Regions from separate parts of the Homo sapiens genome. Here regions 1, 3, 4, 5 and 6 are each linked to region 2. Evidence: promoter capture Hi-C in 16 types of primary human blood cells and fetal thymus (Javierre and others, 2016). All regions are on one chromosome and are shown on one strand. The core of a region is centred on a gene start or on the middle of the fragment in contact, and the rest is flanking DNA. Distances in the headings are between cores, read along the strand shown. Region 1 has its middle 9.9 kb from the start of TXLNG. Region 2 holds the start of ZRSR2 (zinc finger CCCH-type, RNA binding motif and serine/arginine rich 2). Region 3 overlaps CTPS2 (CTP synthase 2). Region 4 holds the start of FANCB (FA complementation group B). Region 5 overlaps LOC124905249 (a long non-coding RNA gene). Region 6 overlaps CTPS2 (CTP synthase 2).

Evidence for each region. Contacts are between HindIII fragments. The CHiCAGO score rates a contact against its expected background, and 5 or more counts as called.
Region 1: a fragment that was not itself captured here is called in contact with the fragment with the promoter of ZRSR2 in region 2 in 2 of 17 cell types (total CD8 T cells and total CD4 T cells); the score reaches 6.1 in total CD8 T cells.
Region 3: a contact is called between a fragment that was not itself captured here and the fragment with the promoter of ZRSR2 in region 2, in 1 of 17 cell types (erythroblasts). The highest score is 5.0, in erythroblasts.
Region 4: a contact is called between the fragment with the promoter of FANCB here and the fragment with the promoter of ZRSR2 in region 2, in 1 of 17 cell types (total CD8 T cells). The highest score is 6.5, in total CD8 T cells.
Region 5: a contact is called between a fragment that was not itself captured here and the fragment with the promoter of ZRSR2 in region 2, in 8 of 17 cell types (total B cells, fetal thymus, naive B cells and 5 more). The highest score is 11.1, in total B cells.
Region 6: a fragment that was not itself captured here is called in contact with the fragment with the promoter of ZRSR2 in region 2 in 4 of 17 cell types (non-activated CD4 T cells, fetal thymus, total CD4 T cells and 1 more); the score reaches 9.4 in non-activated CD4 T cells.

The regions. Positions count from the first base shown.
Region 1 is chrX:16,774,067-16,779,050 of GRCh38, reverse strand. No RefSeq gene overlaps it. Among named protein-coding and RNA genes, the nearest start is that of TXLNG, 9.9 kb to the left of the region's middle. The HindIII fragment of the contact is 6,934 bases long and covers 264-4,984 here.
Region 2 is chrX:15,788,487-15,792,871 of GRCh38, reverse strand. It overlaps ZRSR2 (zinc finger CCCH-type, RNA binding motif and serine/arginine rich 2), which reads right to left and starts at 2,388. Exons shown (of 11, transcript NM_005089.4): 1 at 2,336-2,388; 2 at 1,859-1,938. The coding sequence starts at 2,376. RefSeq lists enhancers at 901-1,402, 2,061-2,510. The HindIII fragment of the contact is 2,263 bases long and covers 1,602-3,864 here.
Region 3 is chrX:16,634,918-16,639,268 of GRCh38, reverse strand. It overlaps CTPS2 (CTP synthase 2), which reads left to right. Exons shown (of 19, transcript NM_175859.3): 14 at 26-122. Among named protein-coding and RNA genes, the nearest start is that of MIR548AM, 10 kb to the right of the region's middle. The HindIII fragment of the contact is 843 bases long and covers 1,400-2,242 here.
Region 4 is chrX:14,869,680-14,874,455 of GRCh38, reverse strand. It overlaps FANCB (FA complementation group B), which reads left to right and starts at 1,387. Exons shown (of 10, transcript NM_001018113.3): 1 at 1,387-1,470. It overlaps MOSPD2 (motile sperm domain containing 2), which reads right to left and starts at 1,035. Exons shown (of 15, transcript NM_152581.4): 1 at 919-1,035; 2 at 698-767. The coding sequence starts at 927. RefSeq lists a silencer at 1,068-1,297. The HindIII fragment of the contact is 4,870 bases long and covers 1-4,661 here.
Region 5 is chrX:16,443,865-16,448,743 of GRCh38, reverse strand. The region is part of intron 1 of LOC124905249 (a long non-coding RNA gene); the gene reads left to right. Among named protein-coding and RNA genes, the nearest start is that of MIR548AM, 180 kb to the left of the region's middle. RefSeq lists enhancers at 1,147-1,672, 1,673-2,198, 3,268-3,467. The HindIII fragment of the contact is 2,987 bases long and covers 1,264-4,250 here.
Region 6 is chrX:16,679,294-16,683,851 of GRCh38, reverse strand. It overlaps CTPS2 (CTP synthase 2), which reads left to right. Exons shown (of 19, transcript NM_175859.3): 9 at 626-758. Among named protein-coding and RNA genes, the nearest start is that of CTPS2, 31 kb to the left of the region's middle. The HindIII fragment of the contact is 4,462 bases long and covers 1,006-4,558 here.

The sequences.
Region 1 (4,984 bases), core at 2,481-4,980, 980 kb before region 2:
ATTTTCTACTGGTGGTGGGGAGGTTTAAGGATGGTTTAAGGTGACATCTGAGCTGTGTCTAAAGGGTCAACAGAAGTTAAATTAGCCACACTAGTCTGACTTGTCCACCTCAGAGTACTTTCACAGAAAGAAAAGCTCCTACTAACTTTTAAATCAGCCAAGAGTATTGTTTCATCAAAAGAGTTGAATTTCATGTTTGTTGCATACTATTGGGGTTGTAGGTAGTGAAAAAGAGTGTTTGCCTCTTCATAGAACAAAAAGCTTATTGTTTAATATGATTACACAATACCATCTTTCTGAGCTAACCCTGATTTTAGTCCTTGTAGGAATTTGGCCAGTTTCTGCATTTGCTATAGATGTCCACATTTCTGGCAGACACTGAAAGATTTAGAAAATGATTATACTTTATACACAGATCACTCAGGCATACTGATGGCAGGCTATGGAGTGTACTATTAGATTGGCACACACCAGGGTGCCAGCTCTAGCAGAAAGAGGATTTTTAAAATAAAAACTCTTCTCATGTATGGACTATTGGGAGAGAGTATGTGCGTTTCAAAAATTCGAATACGTATATTGCATATTTCAGAGTATTGGGATTCATTCATTTTGTTTTGATATACTTCCCCAAGTCTCGCCTATAATTATAGACTTCAAGGACATGGAAACAATGTTCATGTATAGAGACAATGGAAAAGAAAAATACAAACTACAAATAGGTTTAGGCTTTATTGAAAATCTCGGGGCCAGGAGTGGTAGCACATGTCTGTAATCCCAGCACTTTGGGAGTTCGAGGCAGGGGGATTGCTTGAGGCCAGGAGTTCAAGACCAGCCTGGGCAACATAGGGAGACCCCATCTCTACAAAAAATAAAAAATTAGCCTTAGCCAAGTGTGGTGGTGCACACCTGTAGTCACAGCTACTTGGGAGGCTGAGGCAGGAGGATCGTTTGAGCCTAGGAGGTTGAGGCTGCAGTGAGCTGTGATCATGCCAGTGCATTCCAGCCTGGGTGACAGAGTGAGACCCTGTCTCAAAACAAAACAATTTTTTTTTTTGAGACAGAGTCTCGCTCTGTCACCTAGGCTAGAATGCAAAGTGAGACCCTGTCTCAAAACAATTAAAACAATTTTTTGTTTTGACAAACTGAGACCCTGTCTCAAAACAATTAAAACAATTTTTTTTTTTGAGGCGGAGTCTTGCTCTGTCACCCAGGCTAGAGTGCAGTTGGCACGCTCTCGGCTCAATGCAACCTCCGCCTCCCGGGTTCAAGTGATTCTCCTGCCTCAGCCTCCTGAGTAGCTGGGATTACAGGTGCAAGCCACCACGCCCAGCTAATTTTTGTATTTTGTGATCCCAAAGTGCTGGGATCACAGGTGTGAGCCACTGCGCCCAGCCGAACAATTTTTTCAAGTTTTTTTTTTTGTTTCATTTTGTTTTAAGAAACAGAATCTCTTTCTCTGTGTTACCCTGGCTGGAGTATAGTGGTTTTCATCCTAGCCCACTACAGCGTCAAATTGGGCGACAGAGTAAGACCTTGTCTCAAAAAAAAAAAAAAAAAAAGAGAGAAAAGAAAAGGGCTGGGCTCGGTGGTTCACGCCTGTAATCCCAGCACTTTGGGAGGCCAAGGCAGGTGGATCACCTGAGGTCAGTAGTTCGAGACCAGCCTGGCCAACATGGTGAAATCTCATCTCTACTAAAAAGAAAACACAAAAATTAGGCCAGGCACGGTGGTTCATGCCTGTAATCCCAGCACTTTGGGAGGCCAAGGTGGGCAGATCACTTGAGGTTGGGAGTTCACGACCAGGCTGACCAACATGGAGAAACCCCGTTTCTACTAAAAAATACAAAATTAGCCAGTCGTGGTGGCGCATGCCTGTAATCCCAGCTACTTGGGCCGCTGAGGCAGGAGAATTGCTTGAACCCGGGAGGCGGAGATTGCGGTCAGCTGAGATCGCACCATTGCACTCCAACCTGGGCAATAAGAGTGAAACTCCATCTTAAAAAAAAAAAAAATTAACTGGATGTAGGGGCGCGTGCCTGTAATCCCAGCTACTTGGGAGGCTGAGGCAGGGGAATTGCTTGAACCTGGGAGGTGGAGGTTGCAGTGAACTGAGATCGCACCACCGACAGAGCAAGAATCCGTCTCAAGAAAAAGAAAAAAGAGAAGAGAAGAGAAGAAAAGAGAAGAGAAAAGAAAGGGGAACCATCCTGGCCAACCTGGTGAAACCCCGTCTCTACTAAAAATACAAAAAATTAGCCAGGCATAGTGGTGGAAGCCTGTAATCTCAGCTACTCGGGAGGCTGAGGCAGTAGAATCCCTTGAACCCAGGAGGCAGAGGTTGCAGTGAGCTGAGATTGTGCCACTGCACTCTATCCTGGGCGACAGAGTGAGACTCAAAAAAAAAAAAAAAAAAGAAAAAAGAAAGAAAAAAGAAAAAGAAAGAAATCAGCATCCAGTTTAAACCACTGTAATTCTGGATTTTTCTGTCACTTGCCATCAAGCTGATTCTGAAATCACAGAAAGATATATATAGATTTGCTTCTAGGGAAGAGGGTCTATGCTTTTTCACTCACAGTCACACACACACACACACACACACACACACACACACACACAGATGCTCACTTCCTCCCATCATCACATCATCCTCTCTAAATGGTTGTTTTCATTTTGTTAATTTAATATCTTAATTTTTTTTACATTATTTTCATGTAGATATTATTCACAACCTAGTTGTATAGTATCCTATTAATAATTTCTTTTTTATGTTTCTTTTTTCTTTTTTTAAAATTGAGATAGGGTCTTGCTCTGTTGCCCAGGCTGGTCTCAAACTCCTGGACTCAAGTGATCCTCCCACCTCAGTGGGAGCCACGGTGCCCTGCTCCATGTTTCTTATCTTTTCTCTTCTATTTTCCTATATCCTGTTTTGCTACAGACAGTTCCAGGGTTACAATTTTTGATGTTGCGATGGTGCCAAAGTTGTATGAATTTGACTTTGAGTACCCATACAACCATTCTGTTTTTCACTTTCAGTACAAGTATTCAATAAAGCACATGAGATATTCAACACTTTATTATAAAACAGCTTTGTGTTTGATGATTTTGACCAACTGTAGGCTAATATAAGTATTATGAGCTTGGCCAGGAGTAGTGGCTTACGCCTGTAATCCCAGTACTTTGGGAGGCCGAGGTGGGCAGATCACCTGAGGTCAGGAGTTCGAGACACACCTGGCTAACATGGTGAAACCCCATCTCTACTAAAATACAAAAATTAGCCGGGCGTGGTGGCTGGCGCCTGTAATCCCAGCTACTTGGGAGGCTGAGGCACGCGAATCACTTGAACCTGGGAGGCAGAGGTTGCAGTGAGCCGAGATCGTCTCACTGCACTCCAGCCCGGGCAATAGAGCAAGACTCCGTCTCAAAAAAACAAAGTATTATGAGCTTACATTAAGGTAGGCTAGGCTAAGTTATGATGTTTGGTAGGTTAAGTGTATTTTTTTTTTTTCCGAGATGGAGTCTTGCTCTGTCTTGCCCAAGCTGGAGTGCAGTGTCACCATCTTGGCTCACTGTGGCCTCCACCTCCCAGGTTCAAGCAATTCTTCTATCTCAGCCTCCCGAGTAGCTGAGACTACAGGCATGTGCCACTACACCTGGCTAATTTTGTATTTTTAGTAGAGAAGGGGTTTCACCATGTTGGCCAGGCTGGTCTCGAACTCCTGACCTCAGGTGATCCACCCGCCTTGGCCTCTCAAAGTGCTGGGGTTACAGGCATGAGCCACCACGCCCGGCCAGGTTAAGTGTATTAAATGCATTTTCCACTTATGATATTTTCAACTTCTGATGGGTTTATTGGAACATAACGCCATCATAAGTCAGGAAACATCTGTACTTTGTAGATGATCTCAACTTTGTCTTCTAATACTACTAATGAAGTTTTGATCAATGTCATATTTTATTTACTTTTTATTTAATTATTAATTTGTGAGACAAGTCTTGCTCTGTCACCAAGGCTGGAGTGCAGTGGTGTGATCATAGCTCACTGCAGCCTCTACCTCCAGGGCTCAAGTTGAGGCAGGAAAATAGGATCTGGAGGTAGGGAATATAAGGCCGATTCACACTTCAGCTATGACAGGAAATAGCCTCTCCATAGGGCGTAGGCCAAGTAAATGATTGTAACTTTACTTTATCCTCTTCATTTACATAGGGCATACCTCAAGTAGAGGTTATTTTTAAACTCCCAAAAATTCTGAAACAGGGCCTTTGAGCTATGCTTGGGCCTGCTCAAACCCTGTGGAGTGTACTTTCATTTTCAATAAATCCCTTCATTCCTTCCTTGCTTTGTGCGTTTTGTCTAATTCTTTGCTCAAGACGCCAAGAACCTGGACACTCTTCCCGGGTAGCAAAGTGATCCTCCCACCTCAGCCTCCCAAATAGCTGGGACTAGAGGCATGCACCACCATGCCTGGCTAATTTTTATTTATTTATTTCATTTTATTGGTAGAGACTTGGTGTTACTATGTTGCCCAGGCTGGTCTTGAACTCCTGGGCTCAAAGGATCCTCCCTCCTTGGCCTTCCAAAGTGCTGGGATTGGTGTGAGCCACTGCCCCCAGTCTGCAGGACAATTCTTTTTTTTTTTTTTTTTGAGACAGAGTTTCACTCTTGTTGCTCAGGCTGGAGTGCAATGGCCCCATCTTGGCTCACTGCAACCTCTGCCTCCTGGGGTCAAGCAATTCTCCTGCCTCAGCCTCCCAAGTAGTTGGGATTACAGGCATGCACCACCACCACGCTTGGCTAATTTTGTATTCTTAGTAGAGACGGGGTTTCACCATGTTGTTCAGGCTGGTCTTGAACTCCTGACATCAGGTGATCCTCCTGCCTTGGCATCCCAAAGTGCTGGGATTACAGGCGTGAGCCACCACGCCAGGCTGACAATTCTTGAAGAGTAAATAGCTTTTCCCATCAAAAGGAATCAAGATTCCTTGA
Region 2 (4,385 bases), core at 1,139-3,638:
CTCTGGATTTTAAGAATTGTCTAGGATAATTTCATGAGCATATTCTGGATAATGCGGATGACAATCATTATAAGCCAGTACTACTGTGTGATTTCAGTGCTCCCATCTGGATTTATAACTACTACATAATTTTATAACTAAGTCCTAATTTTATTGCATTAAGCAGGTAGATTTAATACATAAATGTTAGGTTTTGCCATGTGAAGGTCAAATGACCATCTGTACAAATAAAGGTTCTACAGTAATTTCATAGAAAAAGTGGTAAATAACTATAAGGCAACATTAGTAGAGGCATTCCAAACTCCCATCAGTGCCATATACATATTGTGAGGAGCATTAGTTTCACATCATCCCTAGCATTACCTGATGTAGATTTAAATTTTACCGAATGTGTAATTTCATTTAGTTTTATAATTTATAAATGTATTTTTATTTGTTTGTTTGTTTTTTGAGACAGAATCTCACTCTGTTGCCCAAACTGAAGTGCAGTGGCAGGATCTCGGCTCACTGCAACCTCTGCCTCCCAGGTTCAACTGATCCTCTTGCCTCAGCCTCCTGAGTAGCTGGGATTACAGGCACCTGCCACCAAGCCCAGCTAATCTTGTATTTTTAGTAGAGGCAGGGTTTCATCATGTTGGCCAGGCAGGTCTCGAACCCCTGACCTCAGGTGATCCATCTGCCTCGGCTTTCCAAAGTGCTGGGATTTCAGGCATGAGCCACCACGCGCCCAGCCCATATATTGTTTTATAGTCAAACAATGGCTTCAGGTCAGGTGTGGTGGCTCATGCCTATAATCCCAGCACTTTGGGAGGCCGAGGTGGAAGGATTGCTTGAGGCCAGGAGTTCGAGACCAGCCCAGGCAACACAGTGAAATCCCGTCTCTACGAAAATTTTAAAAATTAGCCAGGTGGGCCAGGGGCGGTAGCTCACGCCTTTAATCCCAGCACTTTGGGAGGCTGAGGTGGGTGGATCACCTGAGGTCAGAAGTTCGAAACCAGCCTGGCCAACATGATGGGGTTTCACCCCATCTCTACTAAAAATACAAAAATTAGCCGGGTGTGGTTGCGCACGCCTGTAATCCCAGCTACTCGGGAGGCTGCAGCAGGAGAACTGCTTGAACCCAGGGGGCGGAGGCTGCAGTGAGCCAAGATCGTGCCACTGCACTCCAGCCTGGGCAACAGAGCGAGACTCCGTCTCAAAAAAAAAAAAAAAAAAAAAGAAAAGAAAAGAAAAAATTAGCCAGGTGTGGTGGTGAATGCCTGTAGTCCCAGCTACTAGGGAGGCTGAGGTGGGAGGACTGCTTGAGCCTGGGAGGTGGAGGCTGCTGTGAGCCGTGGTTGTGCACATCCCTCCTGGGCAACAGAACAAGACCCTGTCTCAAAAATAAATAAATGAGCTTCATAACTAGTATTATGTTGATATATATTTGAATAACATAATAATTTGGGTAAACCAAGGGTCTCATATTAGTCAAGTTTGAGAAAAACTTGCAAAACGTCTAATTAATACCTTCAACTCCTGCTGGTTTTACGAAGAAAAACATTCACCGAATACTTACTACGTGTGCAAGGACTGTGCTAGCTGCTGTAATTCATGAAGCTTGCAACTGTAATATTAGATACTTTATAAGTTACACAGAATCAGTGGGCGATCATTCACCAAGACTTCCTCTTCCTGCCTTTAGTATGTTAACATTGTTTCTGACATGTGTTTCTAAATAACTACTTGGGGGCAGAAGTCACAGCTATTTTTCCTCCGACACAATATTTGACTTCCTTCTGACACTGGGGCTTCAAGTTAGGGCTGGAGTGGACAGAGCAATTTCACAACACAGAAAACAGAATAAAGAGTCCATCACCTGAGTCTCTCAGTCGAGCAAGTTCCTGCCGACGTTTCTTTCGTTTCTCCTTCTTCAGGGCGGCCCTGTACTTTTTGTGGCTGGAAGATTAAGACATATACACGACGATCAGCGGCTACAATGCAGCGCTGCCCGAGCTCCCCGCTCCTCTGTGCCCAATGAAAGGAAATAGTTCGGGTGCTGAGGAGAGAAACCTTGCTTCCTGTATTTTAATTACAGAACAGCCATCTATCATCGCCTCATCCTCCCACTCCCAGACAGTTCTTCTCCATCCGCCAACCTGATCCTCTCCTCGCTTGCCTGAGCCACAGCCGCCCGTGCAAGTCCGGGGAGGGCACCAGAGCGCGCACCAGGAAGGAATGGAGCTGCCGCGGTGGCTCACTTAGCTTGGCCCAGCTTCTCTTTTCTTCCTGCCACCACATCCTCCATGCCCACGATCGGCCCGCTCGCCTGCTCATCTCCCCGTACGGCGCTTACCTTGGTTTCTCGGGAAACGTCATCTTCTCGGGCGCAGCCATCTTGCCGGCACCGCCCCGCCCCTCCAGGTCTGGCAGGAAAGGGCGGGCCTAAGAGTCGAGACGGGCACGCGCAGGCGCGGGTACCGAGCAACCTCCACCAGCGTGGGACTTGAAACGGAAAGCCGGAGGTACCCTTCGGCGGCTCGTCTTCCAGAACCCTGCTCAAATAAATACCTCCTTCCAGCAAAAATACTCTGGGGCTTTTACCCCGCCCTAGAAGTAATTGTCGCTTCAGCACTTGCCCAGTGCTGTATCACTGTCTCCCTCCTCGCCCTAGCAGGACGTGTTGTGGCTAGGCGGTTAAAGTCGTACTCTGCCGCTTTTCTCAGCATCCACTCATGAAGTCACATCGCGCACAGAGCTGCTCGCCCGGCTTTATTTCCGACCTGTCCAGGTTCCGCGTCCTTCCGCCGATCCACCTATCAGCGCCTCAGACAAAGCTCCAGACTTCGCTCCCTGCCAGTCACACCTGTTCTGGTCCCTTAAGCAAACCTAACTCCCAGGGCTGCAAAGCTGTTACCTCTGCCCCTGAGGAGTTTACAATCGAGGGGGCAGAGAAGAACCAATACATAATATGATGCAGGCAAAGATGAAGTTTACCTAACATAGTCCACCAAGGGATTCAGGGAGAGCTCTCTTTTTTTTCCTTTTTTCTTTTTTTTTCAGTATCACATGCGACTCAACTGCAGTATCAGGGACAGCTTTCTGATGCTAAGAGTTGAGTTTGGAAAGAAGATGCCCTTTACCCAGAAGGAGAAGGGTGGGAATGCAGTTACAGTCAGATCAGCATAAGCAAAGGCGCTGAAAGGTGAAAGTGGAATATGCTGGGAACAGCAAGAATTTTGGCAATCGAATTTATTTATTTATTCATTTCTTATATATTAGAGACAGGGTCTTGTCTTTCACCCAGGTTGGAGTGCAGTGGCGCAATCACGACTCGCTGCAGCTTCGACCTCCTGGGGTCAAGCAATCCTTCCACCTCAGCCTCCCGAGTAGCTGGGAATACAGGCGCGAGCCACCACGCCCGCCCAGCTATCCAATTTAAAGTGCAGTTCGAGGCTGGGTGCAGCGGCTCACGCCTGTAATCCCAGCACTTTGGGAGGCCTAGGCGGGTGGATCACCTGAGGTCAGGAGTTCGTCAGCCTGGCCAACATGGTGAAACCCCGTCTCTACTAAAAATACAAAATTAGCCGGGTGTGGTGGCACATGCCTGTAGTCCCAGCTACTCTGGAGGCTGAAACAGGAGAACTGCTTGAACCCAGGAGGTGGCGGCCGCAGTGAGCCGAGATGGCACCACTGCCCTCCAGCCTGGGCAACAGAGCAAGGCTCCGTCTCAAAAAAACAAAACAAAATAAAGTGCAATTCGAGAATATCAAGGAATATAGTTGTTGTGATGGGCTGGGAGGGCTAGGTTAAGGAGGGCCTGGTGTGCCATGTTAAGACGCTCTGTTTACATTCTGTAGAGACAACAGTGAACCGTTGAAAGCTTTTTAAATAGAGGCTTATTGTGGTTGTGTTTGTGTTTTAGGTAAATCACTCTGCTTTGCAATATAAAGGATTTAAAAGATAAAACTAGAGTATCACAATAATCTAGGTGAGAGGTGTTGAGGAATTAAACTGGGGCAATGAGAGTAGGGATTGAGAAACTAAAAATCATCCCAACTAATAATCAGACTGTAATGTACACATACAAGGCCAGGGACAAGGCCAAGCAAAAAATGTTCCTCACAAGGATGCATTACAGCTGTAAAATGACTAATAACCTCTATCTTTTGAGTGATTGAATAGCTTCCTTGGCCTACCTTTGTTCCGTTCTCCTCCAAATTAAAGTTTCTGAGATACTCAATTACTAAACTGCCTTCCTTCCCCTAATCCCTCCTTAGAATTACTCAGCTGAAGCCCAAACTCTGCATAAAACCTCACCCTAATCTCTCTTATACTGACACACTTGGAGCAACACATATGCCCTTCACCCCCAAGTTGACCTTGTCCAGCTCAGTGCATTGGTT
Region 3 (4,351 bases), core at 572-3,071, 850 kb before region 2:
AACTGGACTTGTTTTGTTTTCTAAGGTGATTGATATGCCCGAGCACAACCCTGGCAATTTGGGAGGAACAATGAGACTGGGAATAAGAAGAACTGTTTTCAAAACTGAAAATTCAATATTAAGTAAGTTTCCCATATTGTTTATTTTACAAGATGTTGGATGTGGCTCATGTGACTGCAGGTGCCCAGCACTCTGGGTGGTGGAGACTCCCCCTGCCCCTTCCAGCATCCTCGGAGGGCCCTGATTCTCTCTCTTCCCATCTCCCCTGCCCTCACTGACCCTCTGCTCTGGGCATTCTTCTCCCTAGTAAGCTTGTCCCTTGGGCTGGCCTCAGTAGAACACACTGAATGCCCCTCCGCATTTGATCTGCGTGACTCCCTGTTCATTGGGCTGTTTTGTGAGTTACCGATGCTCCTGGAGATGAACTTGGACTGGGACTTGGACTGATTCACACTCAGTTCTTTTGAATCCACAGTTCTCTCCATTACATTTGAACCGGTTCCCTGTTTAATGTCTGTTTGCCTGGTCTTAGTGACTCACAAATGAACTTCCGAGTAGGAGGGCAGTTATGCACCTCAGAAGCGTATTTCTCTGTTCCCTGGCAGCCCCAGTGTGGGGAGATGGCTCGCCATTTGATATTTGCTGATCTTTCCACTCCCCATAAGGTTAATTCTAATTTCTGTGGAACTTTTTCATAAATTAGCATATTATATAAGAATAACTTATTGTTTAAAACAAACTAAAGCCTTTAATTCAATTTAATAAATGTATCTTGAGTGCCCACTCTGTGCCATGTGCAGATATAATAGTGACCAGGACAGATACCAGCCCTGCCCTCCTAGGGCCTCAAAACAAGGGGAAGAAATGTGACAAAAGGGGAAGGCAGATTGCTAAGGGGACCGGATGCAGAGAGGGAGCTCAGGAATTGTGAGTGTTCAGTGTCATTTTCGTGAAATTATAAGAATCCCTTAGAATCCTGTGAAGTTATAAGAATTCTTTTTTTTTTTTTTTTTTGAGACAGAGTCTCGCTCTGTCACCCAGGCTGGAGTGCAGTGGCACGATTTCGGCTCACTGCAAGCTCCGCCTCCTGGGTTGACGTCATTCTCCTGCCTCAGCCTCCCGAGTAGCTGGGACTACAGGCGCCTACCACCGCGCCCGGCTAATTTTTTGTATTTTTAGTAGAGATGGGGTTTCACAGTGTTAGCCAGGATGGTCTTGATCTCCTGACCTCATGATCTGCCCGCCTCGGCCTCCCAAAGTGCTGGGATTACAGGCGTGAGTCACCACGCCCGGCAAGAATTCTTCAGAAAAATGCCTTCTTAACTCAAGAAAGAGTAAGACCAGAAATATGAGCTTTTCCTTTAAAGATGAATATAAACCTTCTAAGGAATAGAAAGCTTCCTAGCCAGAATGAAATTAAAAAAGGAAAGGCTTCAAAGTGAATACAGTTTCCTCCTTTCTCTGCATAAAAAGCCATTGTTCTCTAAGTCACTAACATTTTTCCTTACACATACTATATAAGAACTTTTTTTCTTCATGAATGTTAGCAATTCTGTAGCTTTCAGGTGTCTTCAGATTCTATGAAACTTTGTTCAAGTAATTGCCTACGTGACAAAAAATGGTTGGTGAAAAATTAATGTCCTAAAATTATATCTATTGAGAAAGATTCAGTGATAATTGTACTAAGTTTTTAAAAAGAGCATTGTACTCAATATAGTTAAAAATTTGATAGATATAAGTCTGATTTAAGATTTTTCTTGGCCAGTCGCACTGGCTCACACCAGCACTTTGGGAGGCTGTGGCCGGCAGATTGCTTGAGCCCAGGAATTCAAGACCAGCCTTGGCAACATGGGGAGACCCTGCCTCTACAAAAAATACAAAAATTAGCCTGGCATGGTGGCTCATGCCTGTGGTCCCAGCCACTTGGGAGGCTGAAGCGGGACGATCACCTGAGCCCAAGAGGTTGAGGCTGCAGTGAGCCATGATGGTGCCACTGCACTCCAGCCTGGGTAAAAAAGATTTGTTTTTCTTAGTGCTGGATGTGGTGTAATGTGCCTGTAGTCCCAGCTGCTTGGGAGGCTGAGGTGGGAGGATTGCTTGAGCCCAGGAGTCGGAGACCAGCTGGGCAACATAGTGAGACTCCGTCTCAATTTAAAAAGTAAAATTTGTTTTTCTTCACAGTAGACATAAAAATATTGATGATTTGATGATTTTCATGAATCTTAAACACAGCAGCAAAGCTTGTTTTGAAAAATTTTGAAAACAACTTTATTGAGATATAATACATCATATAATTTGTCTATTAGTAGTGTACAATTCACTGATTTTATTTTTTATTTTTTATTTTTTTTTGAGACGGAGTCTGGCTCTGTCGCCCAGGCTGGAGTGCAGTGGCGAAATCTCGGCTCACTGCAAGCTCCGCCTCCCAGGTTCACGCCATTCTCCTGCCTCAGCCTCCCAAGTAGCTGGGACTACAGGCGCCTGCCGGCTATTTTTTTTTGTATTTTTAGTAGAGATGGGGTTTCACCGTGTTAGCCGGGATAGTCTTGATCTCCTGACCTCGTGATCTGCCCGCCTCGGCCTCCCAAAGTGCTGGGATTACAGGCGTGAGCCACCGCGCCCGGCCCAATTCACTGATTTTTTTAGTGCATTCACAGAATTGTGCAACCATCACCGCAATTTTAGGATATTTTCATCACCTCCTGTAGAAACCCTGTGCCCATTAGCTGTCACCATCCCTACTTCCCGCCAGCCCCTGGCAACCACTAATCTACTTTCTGTCTATAGGTTTGCCCATTATGGACATTTCATGTAAATGGAACCATATGATTTGTGGTCTTTTGTGTCTGGCTTCTTTCTTTCTTTTTTCTTTTTTTGAGATAGTCTCACTCTGTTGCCCAGGCTGGAGTGCAGTGGCATGATCTCGGCTCACCGCAACCTTCACCTCCTGGGTTTAAGCGATTCTCCTGCCTCAGCCTCCTGAGTAGCTGGGATTACAGGCACCCACTACCACGCCTGGCTGATTTTTGTATTTTTAGTAGAGACGGGGTTTCGTTGGCCACACTGGTCTCGAACTCCTGACCTCAGGTGATCTGCCCACCTTGGCCTCCTGAAGTGCTGGGATTACAGGCGTGAGCCACCATGCCTGGTCTGTCTCCTTTCTTCTAGCATAATGTTTTTTTGCTACATCCACATTGTAGCATGTATCAGTACTTCATTCCTTTTAATGGCCAAATAATATTCCATTGTATGGATAGACCACATTTTGTTTATCCATTCCTCAGCTGGTGGACATTTGGGTTGTTTCCAGGCAACAATTTCTTTAATTTTTTCTCCTTAATTTTTTAAAAAGTCCTTTTTCTAAAGGGAAAGAAAAGTATGTTGCCTTAAATTTAAGTTGTGCTTCATAGTTTCCAAGAAGTATGTGATATATGAACTTGTGCCCTCCCACTTGTGCAGCACTGTCTTCCACAGGTCTCCAAAAAAGGCTGTGCCAGAGATAAGAATGTGACCACTGTGCAAGGCTCTACTGAGTGGCATACAAATATCAAAACATATAGCATGATAGTGTTTTTTTGTTTTCTTTTGTTTTTTGAGACGGAGTTTCACTCTTGTTGCCCAGGTTGGAGTGCAGTGGTGTGATCTCGGCTCACTGCAACCTCCGTCTCCCAGGTTCAAGTGATTCTCCTGCCTCAGCCTCCCAAGTAGCTGAGATTACAGGCATGTGCCACCACGCCCTCCTAATTTTGTGTATTTTTAGTAGAGACGGGGTTTCTCCATGTTGGTCAGGCTGGTCTCGAACCCCCAACCTCAAGTGATCTACCCGCCTCAGCCTCCCAAAGTGCTGAGATTGCAGGCATGAGCCGCCGTGCCTGGCCGATAGTGTTTTATGAACGTTTTTTTTTCTCCTAGTCAACATATTTCTTTTGTAGAATTTTATGTATTTATTTATGTTTTTATAAGCTGGTACATTTCTTTTGTAGGATTCCCCCATCCCGTATTGGCATATTTCTTTTGTAGACTTTTTTCCAAGTCAGCACATTTTTGCAAGAATGCTATGAACAAAATACATTTGCCTACATTGCCTGTGAAAACAATTAACAATTTTGATAGAAAGCATTGAAATGCTACTCATTTTTTTCATTTAAATTTGACTTATAGGCCAGTAGTTACAATGCTTGGATTAAATAGAAAAACAGGAAAGTAAAGAGTCCTCTAGTAAAAAATAATGCCTTGAAATAGGGTCACAGCCTAAAGATATTGATAGCCGCAGTGGATGGATGACTAGAGTGAGCCTTTTTTTTTTTTTTTCTCTTTTTGAGACAGAGTTTTGCTCTTGTCACCCAGGCTG
Region 4 (4,776 bases), core at 138-2,637, 920 kb after region 2:
GTAGGCAACATATAAATCCTTATTTAATTCCATATTTACAATAAGTTATTCCGTATGTTTTACAAAATTACTGTACAAGCATTAAATATTCAGTTAAGTACCTGACAACTCAAGTATCTGTGACATCTGGACACAGAATGTTCAACCAATAAATCAATTCTGGACTCATAGGTACTTTGCAAGATACAGTTTGGGATAAGAACTTGTTCCAGCATTGGAGGGCCTATTTTGTGGGTAGCATGCTGGGTTGTATGAAAGCCAAATCAAACAAAATATCCAAGGAATTTGTATACCCAATTAAGTACACATCAATAGTATTATGGCAGTTTCCAGGTACATTTTCGCTAGTGTTGCTGGTGAAAGGCCAGCAGTGGAACCGTGGACTGGACAATGTCACCCGTGTTGTGGGCCTAACAAGTATCCTGCAAGTTCCATAAACACGAGGGCATGCTAAAAACTTAACCGATTTCCAACTTACATTAACCCTTTAAAGGGAGCATGGGACACACCACTTGACCATTTGAAGCAGTGCACACGGCTTGTCATGGAGAGGAAAACCTTTGAGACGTGCCCAGCATCATTCCTGTGAGGGTCGAAAGGGTCCCTAACACCTCCCACAAATACACTCACAAACACTCCAGCAAAGTTGGGGATGCTCACTGCACACCTTTCTTAATACCTGGAACAGAGTACCCACCTGTCACATACTCAGCTTCGAACCTCCTCCGGGTCTCAGAGATGAGCTTGGCTTTATTCTGGGCGTGATTCTGGATGGGAGACACGATGGGACCTTAGATACTACTTGCATCAACCCGCTTACCCTCAACCCAGCCCACCTGCACACGGGCGCTCGGTCCCCGGGCCTCAGAGGCGGCTTCCGGGTCCGGGGGGCCAGCGGCGGTGCAATAGGCTCCTCACCTCTGCCATGATCACCGTCGTGGATGTGATTGCGGTTGTCGCCGTCGCCCGTTCTACCGTCGCCGACCGAGTATCTCATCACCCGGCAGTCCCGCCCAGAGGTAGACAGAGAAGGGTGGGAGGGGGAGGCGGTCGCGTGACACCGGAAGGCGGACAGAAGCGCCGCCGCACCGCCCAATCCAATGCGGACGCCTGGGTCTGGAGGCGGGACCAGGCCCTCAGCCTAGGTCCCATTCGATTCTCGTCTGGCCTCGCCCCGCGACATCCCCCGCACTGCGGTCCCGCCCCCGCCAGCCGCGAGATCGCCGGCGCTTCCCCCGCGGAGCTCCGCCCTAGAGAGCTCGCGGGCTCTCTGCTTTCACAACACTCCCCAGGGCCCCGCCTCCTCAGCCTCCCTTGGCCACCTCTCCTGGCTGGCTTCTAGGCTCCGCCTCCTCTGCGTTCGACGCAGCCTCCGCCCGGCCTCCCAGGATGCAGCGCGCTGGCGGGAGGTTTGGAGCAGATGGATACCGTATCGACGTGGGGCCTCCGGTATGTTGCCGCTGCGTTGAGGTAGGATGGGGCTGGCGAGTCTTCCCTTCCCAGGACTTCGCAGAGGGGGCGATGGGGCTGGATTTCCTCCCCTTGTCCCCGCATTGCGGGAGAGAGGGAAGGAAGCGGGCATCCCGAGACCTGGGTCTGTCATTCCTTGCAATGATAATTGGATTTTAAGTGCTACATTCGCTTGAAGTTTTTTTCATCCCTTCAGTATCCTTCCAACTTGGAGTGTGAGATGCTTAATGAGCAAAATATCTCTGAAATCTTTAATCTCAAATAATTATATAAAGTTAAAAAAAGCGTGTTTCGGCTTATTAAGGTAGTTGTGTTCAGCCGGGGGGGTGGGGGGGTGTGTGTGGGGGGGGCGGTTTTACCACCCAGGGGACCTTTGGCAACCTCTGGAGACATTTTTAGTCACCACTGCTAGGGGCCGGGGGCAAAAGAGATGCTCACTGGCTACTAGTGGATAGAGACCAGGGAAGCTGCCAAACATCCTCCAGTGTACATGAAAATTCACAACAGTTATCCAGCCCAAAATGTCAATAGTGTCAAGGTTGAGAAAGATTTAGATTTAAAGGGACTGGAACAAATTTTATTCGTCAGTTAAAAACAATTGAAAGAAAATAGTTGCGCATACAATATTGCCTTTTTTAAAGTTGAAAGATACTGAAAACTACAAACAAGTTGTAAGAATAGTCCCCCATATTTCCATCAACCGTAGTCATCCATGACAGAATGGCATGTTAGCATCTTTTGTCCTAGACTTTTAAATATATTTACATTTTTTATGGGAAAAAATGAACACATTGTTTAAACGTTGTTTGACTACATCCTTAAAAGATATTTCAGATATAACTAAAGTCTCCTTCTACCTCTACTCACCTATCCTGGACACTTCCTTGTCCAGAATCAACAGCATTCAGAATTTGGCATGAAATGTTTACAGTTTTACATTTTTTTATTTTGGATCATACTGCCTGGGTTTGAATCCTGGCTCTGTCACTTCTTATCTGCAAGCCTTTGAGAAGATCCTGAAACTCCTTGCCTCAGTTTCTCCATCTATAAAATGGGATAGTAACAGTGCCTATGTCATAAGGATGTTGTGAGGAAGAAACGAGTTAATCCAAAGTGCTTAGAGCAGTACCTGGCACTGTTTCTTCAGGAAAAAAAAAAAAAATAGTACATGGCACTATTTCTTGAGAAAGCACTCAGGGACTGTAGTCATTGTAGGTAAATAGAACATATATAATGCTGTTTTATTTGTTTTACATAAATAATATGCTGCAGTGTACATTTGTCTGCAACTTAATTTTTAATTCATTTTATTTTTGAAATTTAACCATGATTATATATATATATACACACACACACACACACATATATAGATAGATAGATCTAATTCATTCCTTTTAACTCTTGTTTGATAGTCCATCTATACTCATTCCCCTATTGGTGTTCATTGAGGTTTTTACTTTTTTTATATTGCAAATATCAGCACAGTGAGCTTCTAGAGCAATGTATTCATTCATATGTGGGATTATGTCTCTGGGTTTATATCTACAAATGAAACTACTGGGTATATGCATTTCAGTTGACTGCCAAATTACCTTCAGAGTCATCTCTCCCTTTTATTTAAGTACTCATAATTTTCTTCTAATTGTTAGCTCTTTTTCCAGTCTGATCTCACTCACACCTTTAACACTGTCACCAGGATCTTCATAACTCAAAAGTACAGTCCTGTGATTTCTGTTTTTGAAGTCTTTCAGTGGGTTATCATTACTTATATGAGAAATTTATAAGTCCTTAATATGACATAAAAATCTTCTTTAGCGTAATCTTCCCAAATCCTCTAATTTAGTTGATCACGATTCTCCCGCATTTACTCACATTTCAGGCATATTAGATAATGTTGAAAAAGGTGAGATCAATTCTGTATAGGACCCAATAAATAACTTATGTAGGGAGAAAAAAACTTTTAACAGTGGCCCTATTTTGTAGGAAAGTTAATTTACTTTGGTTAACAATGTCATATGTCTTGGAAAAACAACATCTATCATTATTATCTTCATAAAATTATGTTCAGTATTATTAGGTGCCATTTTAGTTGAGTGTCTTAATTTTACTTTTTTCCCAAGGATACTTTCTCTTGGTCACAGTTAATATGGTTTCTTAGACTTTTTGGATGTCATCTGCTCTTCTAGGATAATCTGGAACCACACTGATAGTTTATTTAAAGAATTGTCACATTTATAGGGCCAAAATGATTTATGAGCATTTAAAAAGAATGAACAACATATTTATTAAGAGGGGGGGCAGTAAAGAGTAGATGAGGATGATAATTTTATTGCCAGCCTACTATTTTTATGTTAGCATATGCTTGTATATATTATCATTTTTCTAGTATACACACACATCTGTTTTAATTTTATGTATAAAATAGATAGTCAACTTTGATGTATGGTAATATAGAACAGGAAAAGCTCAAATTAATTATGTAGTATTTTATAAATAATCTACTTTCTGGTCTCCACGCCCCGCCCCGCACCGCCACCCTGCCCCGCACCGCCACCCCTAGTTACTTCTGTATCTTCTGCAGCCACTGTTATAATGTTAATAAGTAAAAAGTCAAATAGCCCATAGGCTAGAATAGTAAACCTGGGGCCCTGATAAGCAGAGTTTAAAATAGTGAGGGGTTGCTTATAATTGGACTAAGAACCTGTAAATTGAACCTTAGTTTGATTTGTTTCCAGATATGTTTCTATTTTTTTTAAATGCCAGTTATTTCATGGCCTGCAGGTTTTATGAACATATCCCAAGAACTTTAAAAATAGATGTTGCAGCAGCAATACTTAATATCTACTGTCTTAGCAGTTACACCTCAATAAAGCTGGGAAAAAAGTTAAAATTCATTTTAGCAATGAATTAAATTTTAATGATTGAGTATTACTTAGATATAATAAATAGCAAACATTAAAAACAAATGAGATTGAAAACATGTTGCATCAGTATAAAATATAGTGGATATGCACATATATGTAAATTCAATAAGTCTTGCAAAAACTTTTCACTCAATAGTCATAAATAGTCATTTATGTTTTTAGATCAGTTTAAGTTCATGAGAATAAGTTTGCTTTCTGCCTGGAGATCGTATTGAAAGCAGGTCGAATTAGGATTATACAACAGAGTTTTGAATGCCATGCTAAGCTTCATAGCAATGATTTGCAAGCTTTTTTTCTCTACACCATTCATATGTTCAATTCACAGTGTTTAGCATCTATTTTTCCAGGTAGTAATTCAAGAATCACAGGTCTATTGAGAAAG
Region 5 (4,879 bases), core at 1,508-4,007, 660 kb before region 2:
ACTTCCTGTATGTTGCTTTGACTAATCCTCAAAACAACTCTTCAAGGTAGGTATTTCTACCTGGCAAAGGAAACAGAAACAGAGAGGTTAACCACCTTGCCCAAGGTCACACAGCTAGCATGTGAGAAAATGTTTATAAAATGCCTAGTGCAGTATCTAGTACAGAATAAGCCCTCAATAGAGAGCTTTTTATAACTCAAAAGCTCATGTTGTTTTCCATATACATTCAGGTCACCATTTTGTCTGAGCTTGTAAGCTGTCTTTGTTCTTTCCACTCCATAGCTACCACTTGACACAGGGATTCTGACCTTATTGTGACATCCTGGAAATTAAGTTCAGCCAGAGGTGGCTCCTGACCTAAACAGAGAGCCCAGCCTCATTGTTCCTTAAAGTCTCTCTGAAGTAAGATGCCTCTGGAATAATAACCAGTAGTGATGGAATCCCAATCAGGAACCCAATGGGGAACTTTTCTTGAGAAACTCTTCCCCTAAGGCCTGAGCCTGGGTGCTACTTGACTGCTGCTCCATGGCTTACTATGGGCAAGGTCTGGAAAGCCTTGGAGAAGTCTAGGCAGTCACAGGTAGCAGCCAGTGTAGAGGATATTAGAGGACAGGGCCAACATAGGAGGTGGGTTCATAAGGCAAGAGGCTGGGGACAGACTCTTGGCTCTTCCTTGGATGGGTCCAAATCCCAGAGCTGGCCTTGCATTGGGAGAATGATCAGAGCAGGAAGGCCTTTTCCCAAGTCCTATCTGAGCCACACAGCAAACCCTGGGGGGCGTGGAGGGAGCGATGTACCTTTAACCCCAAGGCTGACCATATCTCCACGCCATGCCTGGGGTTTCTGCCATTCAGGGGTTCTGGGGTCCAGCAAGGGTGAAGTGAAGAAAACAGGAGGAAGAAGAGAGGAGAGGGAGAGCAGGGTGTTTGGAAGCCTCAGGATCTGGTAAGAAGAGGAGAAAGCAAAGAGCAGCAGGAGCCACGAACGCTTCATTTCCTGCTTGTCCTCCCTGCCTCATTCTTGAATGAGGATCTTGAAGTAATGAGTGAGGAGGATTTTCCTAGCTACTAGCATAAGGGAGTATAAGAAAATAGTAGATAAGGAATAAAGTCCAGAGCTAATAAGAAGCACCTTTACTGTTGAATTCTTCTGAGAAAATTTCAGAAGTAAAATTCCTAGGTAAATTTTAGTTTATGTTCCATTCTAGGGAAATGTCAGCCACTCTCCTCTAATTAACATTGCTAAAAGCTTAGAGTGAAAGCTTTCATTTCCTGTTGCTTTTTACATGGACTTGCCACAGCAATCAGTGTCTGTGTAGCTTTCCTTCCCTCGGCTCTTGGTGTTCTTTCTCTGACATTAAGAAATTCTCTTCCTGCATGGAACAAGTGTTATTTTGTTAAAACCGGATGCCTGTCATTTATTCCTTGCAACTGTAAACCAAAAAGGAACTGAGACAAGTCTCAATCAATGTAGAAGTTTATTTTGAGGGCCGGGTGCGGTGGCTCACGCCTGTAATCCTAGCACTTTGGGAGGCTGAGGTGGGTGGATTGCTTGACCTCAGGAGTTTGAGACCAACCTGGGCAACATGGTGAAACCCCGTCTCTACTAAAATACAAAAAATTAGCCGGGTGTGATGGCACACGCCTTAATCCCAGCTACTAGGGAGGGTGAAACAGGGGAATCACTTGAACCTGGGAGGCAGAGGTTGCAGTGAGCTGAGATCGCGCCATTGCACTGCAGCCTGGGAGACAGAGCGAGACTCCGTCTCAAAAAAAAAAAAGAAGTTTATTTTGAGAAGGTTAAGGACGTACTCATGACACAGCCTCAGGAGGTCCTGAGAACATGTGCCCAAGGTGGTTGGGCCACAGCTTGGTTTTATACATTTTAGGGAGACATAAGATATCAATCAGTACATGTAAGGTGTACATTGGTTTGGTCTGGAAAGGTGGGACAACTGGAAGTGGGGGCTTCTAGGTCAGAGGTGAATTCAAAGATTTTCCAATTGGCAATTGGTTGAAAGACTTCTTCTAAAGGCCTGGAATCTATGGGAGGGAGTGTCTGGGCTAAGATAAGGGGTTGTGGAGACCAAGGTTCTTATTATGCAGATGAAGCCTTTAGGTAGCAGGCTTCAGAGAAAATAGATTGTAAATATTTCTTATTAGACTTAAAAAGGTGCCAGACTATTAGTTAATTCTCTCCTGGATCAGGACGAAGACCTGGAAAAGTAAAGGGATTCTTTCCAGAATGTAGATTTTCCCCACAAGAGACAGCATTGCAGGGCCATTTCAAAATATGTCAAAAAATATATTTTAGGGTAAAATACTTCAATTTCTTTCAGGGCCTGCTATCTGTCAAGTGATGCTATAATAGAGTCAGGCTGGAATTCGGTGTCTTATTGCTACAAAGTCTTAAGATGTCTATTGTAATGTGAATGCTGGTCAGTTGTGCCTGAATTCCAAAGCAAGGCGGGTATAAGGAGGCATGTCCAACTATGCCCCCCACTGCCCCCCAACCCCGCCAGCCCCGGCATCCCATCATTGCCTGAACTAGTTTTTCAGGTTCTTTGGAATGTCCTTGGCTGAGAGAAGGGGTCCTTTCAGATGGTTGGGGGGCTTAGAATTTTTTTTTTAGTTTACACAACTAATATAAATTTTATCAAAGGTTTCTGATGGTTCACACAGAAGTCCCACGGTGCAATTCTCCACTGGAAGACATTTTTATTTCCTAGGGCTATTAGTTGGCTTACAATAAAAACTTTAAAGCACTTTTCTTTCCTGAGAAAATTGCTCTCTGAATCAATGGGATTGAGCATAGATAATGGAAAGAGACAGTAAGATGTTCTTGCCTGTAACCAAGCTCCTGTTTAGCGCTTAGTTTGTCTGTCCAACCTGGAGAATCATGGGATGCCCCAGGAATTGTTCCTGAGATTTAAGTTTCACATTGAGACTTTAGGGTTGTTTCCTACAGATTGACTCTTCCCAGAGTGGGTGATCCATCCATGGAACAACCTTGGGTGGGCCTGTGGGTGCATCCTTAAAACAAATGAGGGCTCACTCTGAATATAAGGCAAGATCTTTCAACTGTGGCACTATTGACATTTTGGACTGGACAATTTTGTGTTATGGGAGTGTCCTGTGCAATGTAGGATGTTTGGCAGCATCCCCGGCCTCTACCCACTAGATGCCAGCCTCCACCCCTAAGCTGTGACATCCAAAAATGTCTCCAGACACTGCCAAATGTCCACTGCAGGAAAATATCACGCCCTGTTGAAAACCACTGATCCAAAGCACCCGCAATTATTTATTCTGGTACAGTTGTAGAAGGCCTCGAACACTTTTCTTCAAAGGGCTGTACAGCCTTAAGAAACCACTAGAGGGCGAGCAGGGCTGCTAATTTGAGCTGCTTCATAAAGGTGTCACTGCAGGACTTGGCAGAAGCAGGGGGCCAAGGGACTCCCCTTGGGAGCTTGATGGAACCACTGAGAAGAGCAAGTCCTGCCATCCTAAGAGCATTAGGGAAGCAGCCACCAGTAAGAACGCACCCCTCACCCCAGGAGCTGAGAAGACCATGGTTATGAGGTGACTGTCAAGTGATGGGCTCCATCACCCAGGGTGAGGTAACCCTCTGTGAGGAGGGGTCAGCCAGCCTCTTCTGTCTCCTTGATGTGGTGTACTTAGTGTAGAGAGGAAAGAGATTATTGGTCTTATCTCGATTTTTCATGAAGGGGAGATAGCATTCAGTTCAATAAGTATTTATTTCATGTCTACTATTTATAAGGTTCTGTGTTTGATTATGGGGATATTGGTAGATTGCATAAATGGCCACAAATTATTTACCTGTCTGTATCCATGCCTTTGGGCAGTCCCCTCCCACATTGACTCTGGGCATAGCCATTTGATTTGCTTTGGCCAATGGGTCAATAGCAAATGTGATGCAAGCAGAGACCTGAAAGCTCTTGCTCACTGGGGCATATCCACTCTTGAGGCTCTTGGGACCCTGCCGCTGCTGTCGTGTGAGGAAGCCCAAGCTAGCCTGCTGAATGATGAGAGATCCGTGACCCCAGGGGCTCCTATTACCTCAGCTGACAGCCAGCCAACTTCCAGAAGCTGAGACACCTAGTTGACCAGCAGCCAACTGGCACGGCTTAACTCAGTATAGCAGAAGACCAGCAAAAGAAAGGCCCAGCCCAAATTGCCAACCCACAGAATTGCGAGTCACGTAGTTGGCTGTAGTTTTTAGGTCACTAAGCTTAGGGTGGACTGTTACGCAGCAAAAGCTAATGAAAACACAGATGGATGAGACATAGTTCTTGCCTTCAGGACTCCACAGCCTAAGAGACCAATAATTTGCTCCCAAGGCAGGCTGCTTGTGTAATTGGACCCTTAGAGCCATACGAGACAGTAATAGCAGTCACGTTCGTTTTTCACTCCTGGAATACTAGTTAAAAGCATGAACTTGAAAACCAAAGCGCTTGAACTTAAATCCCAGCTCCATCACTTACTAGCTGTGTGACTCTGTGTAGGTTCCTTAATCTTTGTGTCTCTATTTTCTCGAAAAGGGATAATGATAGAACCTACCTCATGGAGTTGTTGAGGGGATTAATAGGTACACATTTCTTATGATAGGGTCTATGATTTAGTAAGTGTTTTGAAAGTACTAGCAATATATGTTTGGTCTAAAATGGAATCAGCATTAAAGTGTTTTCTTTTTGAATAACACCTTCCACTACATATAATAGTAATACATGTTCTTTGTGAAAAGCTGAAAAAAATACAGGAAAACTATAAAGAAGAGAACAAATGTCATCCCTTAGATTTTGTGCCAACTTTAGAAATAACACATTTTATTTTAAATCAAGCTACTATGATCAGCTTTGGAG
Region 6 (4,558 bases), core at 1,987-4,486, 890 kb before region 2:
ACTTTGAATGCATTTTCTTACACAATGTCACCTTACAAAGTTAATATTGGAATGTTTCCTACTGACACGCAGAATGCATTTTTTTTATACAATGTCACCTTATTAACCAATGTAAGAATAGCTCATGTTTATGAGATTGGGATAGCTTTTCAATTTTTACTTTTAATGCTTTTAACTTTTTCTCTGATATACTTGAATTTTTATCTGTATCTGCTTGTGTAAAACAACGTTGGGATTTCTGTTTTTGTTTTATGAGACAGTGTCTCACTGTGTCGCCCAGGCTGGAGTGCAGTGGTGTGATCATAGCTCACTGCAGCCTTGGTCTCCTGGGCTCAAGTGATCCTCCAACCTCAGCCTCCTGAGTAGCTGGGATTGTAGGCATGCCCCACCACGCCTGGCTAATTTTTGTATTTTTTTGTAGAGACGGGGTCTAACTATGTTGCCCAGTCTGGTCTCAAACTCCTGGGCTTCAGTGATTCTCTCGCCTCAGCCTCCTGAGTAGCTAGGACTACAGCTGCTCCCGAGGATTTAAAAAGTGCCTTGGAGTAAGAGCAGCAGCTGCCATTGTTCTGTTTGTGATGTTCTGTTATGTGCATATAACCTTTGAGTTTGTTTTCTTTCCCAGGTATGAAAGGTTACAGAAAATATGCTCCATAGCCCTGGTTGGCAAATACACCAAGCTCAGAGACTGCTACGCCTCTGTGTTCAAAGCCCTGGAACACTCAGCCCTGGCCATCAACCACAAGTTGAATCTGATGGTGAGTCCTGGCCTGGTCTTTTGGCTATCTCAGTAATTCATGCCAATAGCACATGTTCCAGAGGGGCAAGTTTTGTTAAAGGGTCCCTGAGATCACCTGCAGGACTTACGATTCACCAGAAGAACTCACAGGACTCATCATATAGTTATACTCATAGCTAAGATTTATTATAGCCAGACAATGCAAAGCAAAATCAGCCAAGGAAAAGTCGTGCAGGGTGAAGTCTAGGAGTAACCAGGCGCAAGCTTCTAAGTGCTCTCCCCTGGTAGAGTCCAGTGAGTTGTGATAATACATGCAAACTGCCATTTACTAAGGAAGCTCATTGAAGACTTGAAGCCCAAGGTTTTTACTGGGGGCTGGTCACGTAGGCACCCTCTTCTTAGCACTTCCCAAAATGCCAGCCTCCCAGAAGGAAAGCATGCAGCAGAAACCATGTTGTCTGTACAGACACTTTCAGCACAGTGAGCTTCTCCTATCAGTTCTTGGAATGATGGGAACCCTCCCAAAATCAGAGTTTCCAGAAGCCAGTCAAGTCTCAATCTTGTAGCAGGCCTTTCCAAGGGCAGCAGCCAGGCTTGCTGTGTAAACGGTTTTCTTTTTTCCTTTTTTGAGACACAGTCTCCCTCTGCCGCCCAGGTTGGTGTGCAGTGGCATGATCTCGGCCCACCGCAACCTCTGTCTTCACCGTTCCAGCAATTCTTGTGCCTCAGCCTCCTGAGTATCTGGGATTACAGACTCCCGCCACCATGCCCAGCTAATTTTTGTATTTTTAATAGAGACGGGGTTTCACCACGTTGGCCAGGCTGGTCTCGAACTCCTGATCTCAGGTGATCTGCCCGTCTTGGCCTCTCAAAGTGCTGGGATTACTGGCATGAGCCACTGTGCCTGGCCTGTGTAAGCTGTTTTCTACATGTAGGTTTAAGGCACATTTCTGAAAGTAGGCTTTGCACATTCAGATGAATGAGCATGCTTGTCATGCTCGTTTAAGTACGTCGTAATTGCCTAACAGGAAAATAATAGGACATTTTTTCCCTTTAGCATTGGAATGGAATCTAGATTTTTTAAAATACTATATTCCCCTCTCTAACATGGAGGAATGATAGCTAGCAAACAGTGATTATTTGTTTTGGAAACTCAGTATTGTGGAATAACAGAGGCGTAGTTATCTTATATAGCTTGAGTATATTCTTCCATATAAGAACGGAAGTAGTACATGTTTAGAGTAAAACATTTAAACAAAGCATAAGCCAGGCGAAGTAGTTCACGCCTGTAATCCCAGCCCTTTGGGAGGCTGAGCCAGGTGGGTTGCTTGAGCTCAGGAGTTGAAGACCAGCCTGGGCAACAATGGGAGACCTCATCTCTATAAAAAAAACTTAAAAAGTTAGCCGGGTGTGGTGGCATGCGCCTGTAGTCTCAGCTAATTGGGAGGCTGAGGCAGGAAGATCACTTGAGCCCAGGAGTTTGATACTGCGGTGAGCTATAATTGCGCCACTGCACTCCAGCCTGGGTGACAGATTGAGACCCTGTCTCCAAAAAACAAAACAAAACAAAATAAAGCATAAATCTAAAATGCAGAAAGCAGATTCCTCCTCCCTGAAATCCCACTTGTTACCAGTTGGATACGTATATTTATATATCTATCTCACATTTATATTTAATGATATTCAGTATGAGTATATCATTGTTTAAGCAAGTCTTATCATCTTGACTTAAATGGCAAAAACTTTGTATAATGAGTAAAAAGATCCATTTATATGTTAAAGAAATTTAATGGCTTCCACTTTGACACTAGCTTAGGAGAACTAGCTGCTGTTTCTCTCTCCTCTTTTTAGCCTCCTTCTTTCCTAATCACTTTTTAAAAATTTTATTTTATTATTTTTTAATTAATTAATTAGTTAATTACTTTTTAGATGGAGTTTTGCTCTTGTTGCCCAGGCTGGAGTACAGTGGTGCCATCTCAGCTCACTGCAACCTCTGCCTTCTGGGTTCAAGTGATTCTCCTGCCTTAGCCACCCGAATAGCTGGGATTACAGGCATGTGCCACCACGCCCAGCTAATTTTTGTATTTTTAGTAGAGATGGAGTTTCTTCATGTTGGCCAGGCTGGTCTCGAACTCCTGACCTCAGGTGATCCACCTGCCTTGGCCTCCCAAAGTGTTGGGATTACAAGCGTGAGCCATCGTGCCTGGCCTATTTTTTAATTTTTATAGAGACGGGGTCTCGCTATGTTGCCCAGGCTGGTCTCGAACTGCTCAAACAATTCCTCCTGCCTTGGCCTCCTAAAGTGCTAGGATTACAGGCGTGAGCCACCATGACCAGCCCCTAATCACTTTTTACTTTTGGCTTTCTAAGGAATAGTTTACTTCCCATTCCTCCCACTCCTTCAAGTCGCCCGCCCCATTATGTAAAAAAAAGAAAATGGCAATGGAAAAATTGCCATGACATATACATTTTATAAAGCCTTTAGAAATTTGTATCTTAAAGTTTATTTGAATAGTCTTTTTTTTTTCTTTTCTTTTCTTTTTCTTTTTTTTTTTTTTGAGACAGGGTCTCGCCCTTTCTCCTAGGGTGGAGTGCAGTGGTGCGATCTTGGCTCACTGCAACCTCCACCTCCGGGGTTCAAGCAATTCTTGTGCCTTAGCCTCCTGAGTAGCTGGGATTACAGGTGCCCGCCACCACACCTAATTTTGTTATTTTTAGTAGAGACAGGGTTTTGTCATGTTGGCCAGGCTGGTCTTAAACTCCTGGCCTTAAGTGATCCACCTGCCTCGGCCTCCCAAAGTGCTGGGATTATAGACGTGAGCCACTGTGCTTGGCCAGGAGAGTCATTTTTACAGAAGAAATACTAAACTAATATAGATAGAGAGGGACTGTTATATACATAAGAATTGGTGCACATGATGCTTCATCTGATAGGATTCATTGACATTAGCTTCTCCTAAGTACTGTTTGAATCCTGGCCTTGTCATCTTCCTTCTAAGATTGGGCTGCATCTGTCTATCTCTCCTGGTTTGCTGCAGCTGCAGCGGCTTCCGGGCTGGTTTCCAGCTGCCAGTCTTCCCTGCCTTTGCCACACTCTACCAGAGTGATCATTGTAAAATCTTTCTCGGTTCTCTCTGTTCCTGTCGTCCCTTTACTTAAGATCTTTCAGTGGTGTCTCAGTCTGTTCAGGCTGCTGTAACAAAGTACCATAGACCAGGTGGCTTACAAACAACTGCCATTTCTCTCTCACAGTTCTGGAGGCTGGAAGTCCAAGATTAGGGTGCCAGCATGTGGCCGGGTTCTGGTGAGGGCCCTCTTTTGGGTGCAGAGGACCAACCTCTGGTTATATCCCCATGTGCGGAAGGGGTGAGGGAGGTCTATGGGGCCTTTTTTATAGGGGCACTAATCCTATTCCTATGTGCTCTGCCTTCTTGACCTAATCATCCCTCAAAGACCCCACCTACCTCCTAATACCATTCCTTTGGGAGTTGGGATTTCAACATAGGAATTTTGGGGGAACACAGACATTCAAACCATTGCAATTGGCTTCAAGTGTCAAGTCTGTGTCATGGCTTCTCAGCCTCGTCCCTTGCCTTCCTCCAACCAATCAGGTCTGTCCTCTCGCTGGGTGGGGCCTTTTTTGAGGGTCCCAGAGTGGCTACCACTTTCTCTCTTTTTCCTCTGAGGTTTCATATAAGTGGTTCCTTTGCTGGAGATTTCTTTTTTTTTTATTTATTTTTATTTTTTTATTTTTTGAGACGGACTCTCACTCTGTTGACCAGACTTGAGTGCAGTGGCACAATCTAAGCTCACTGCAAC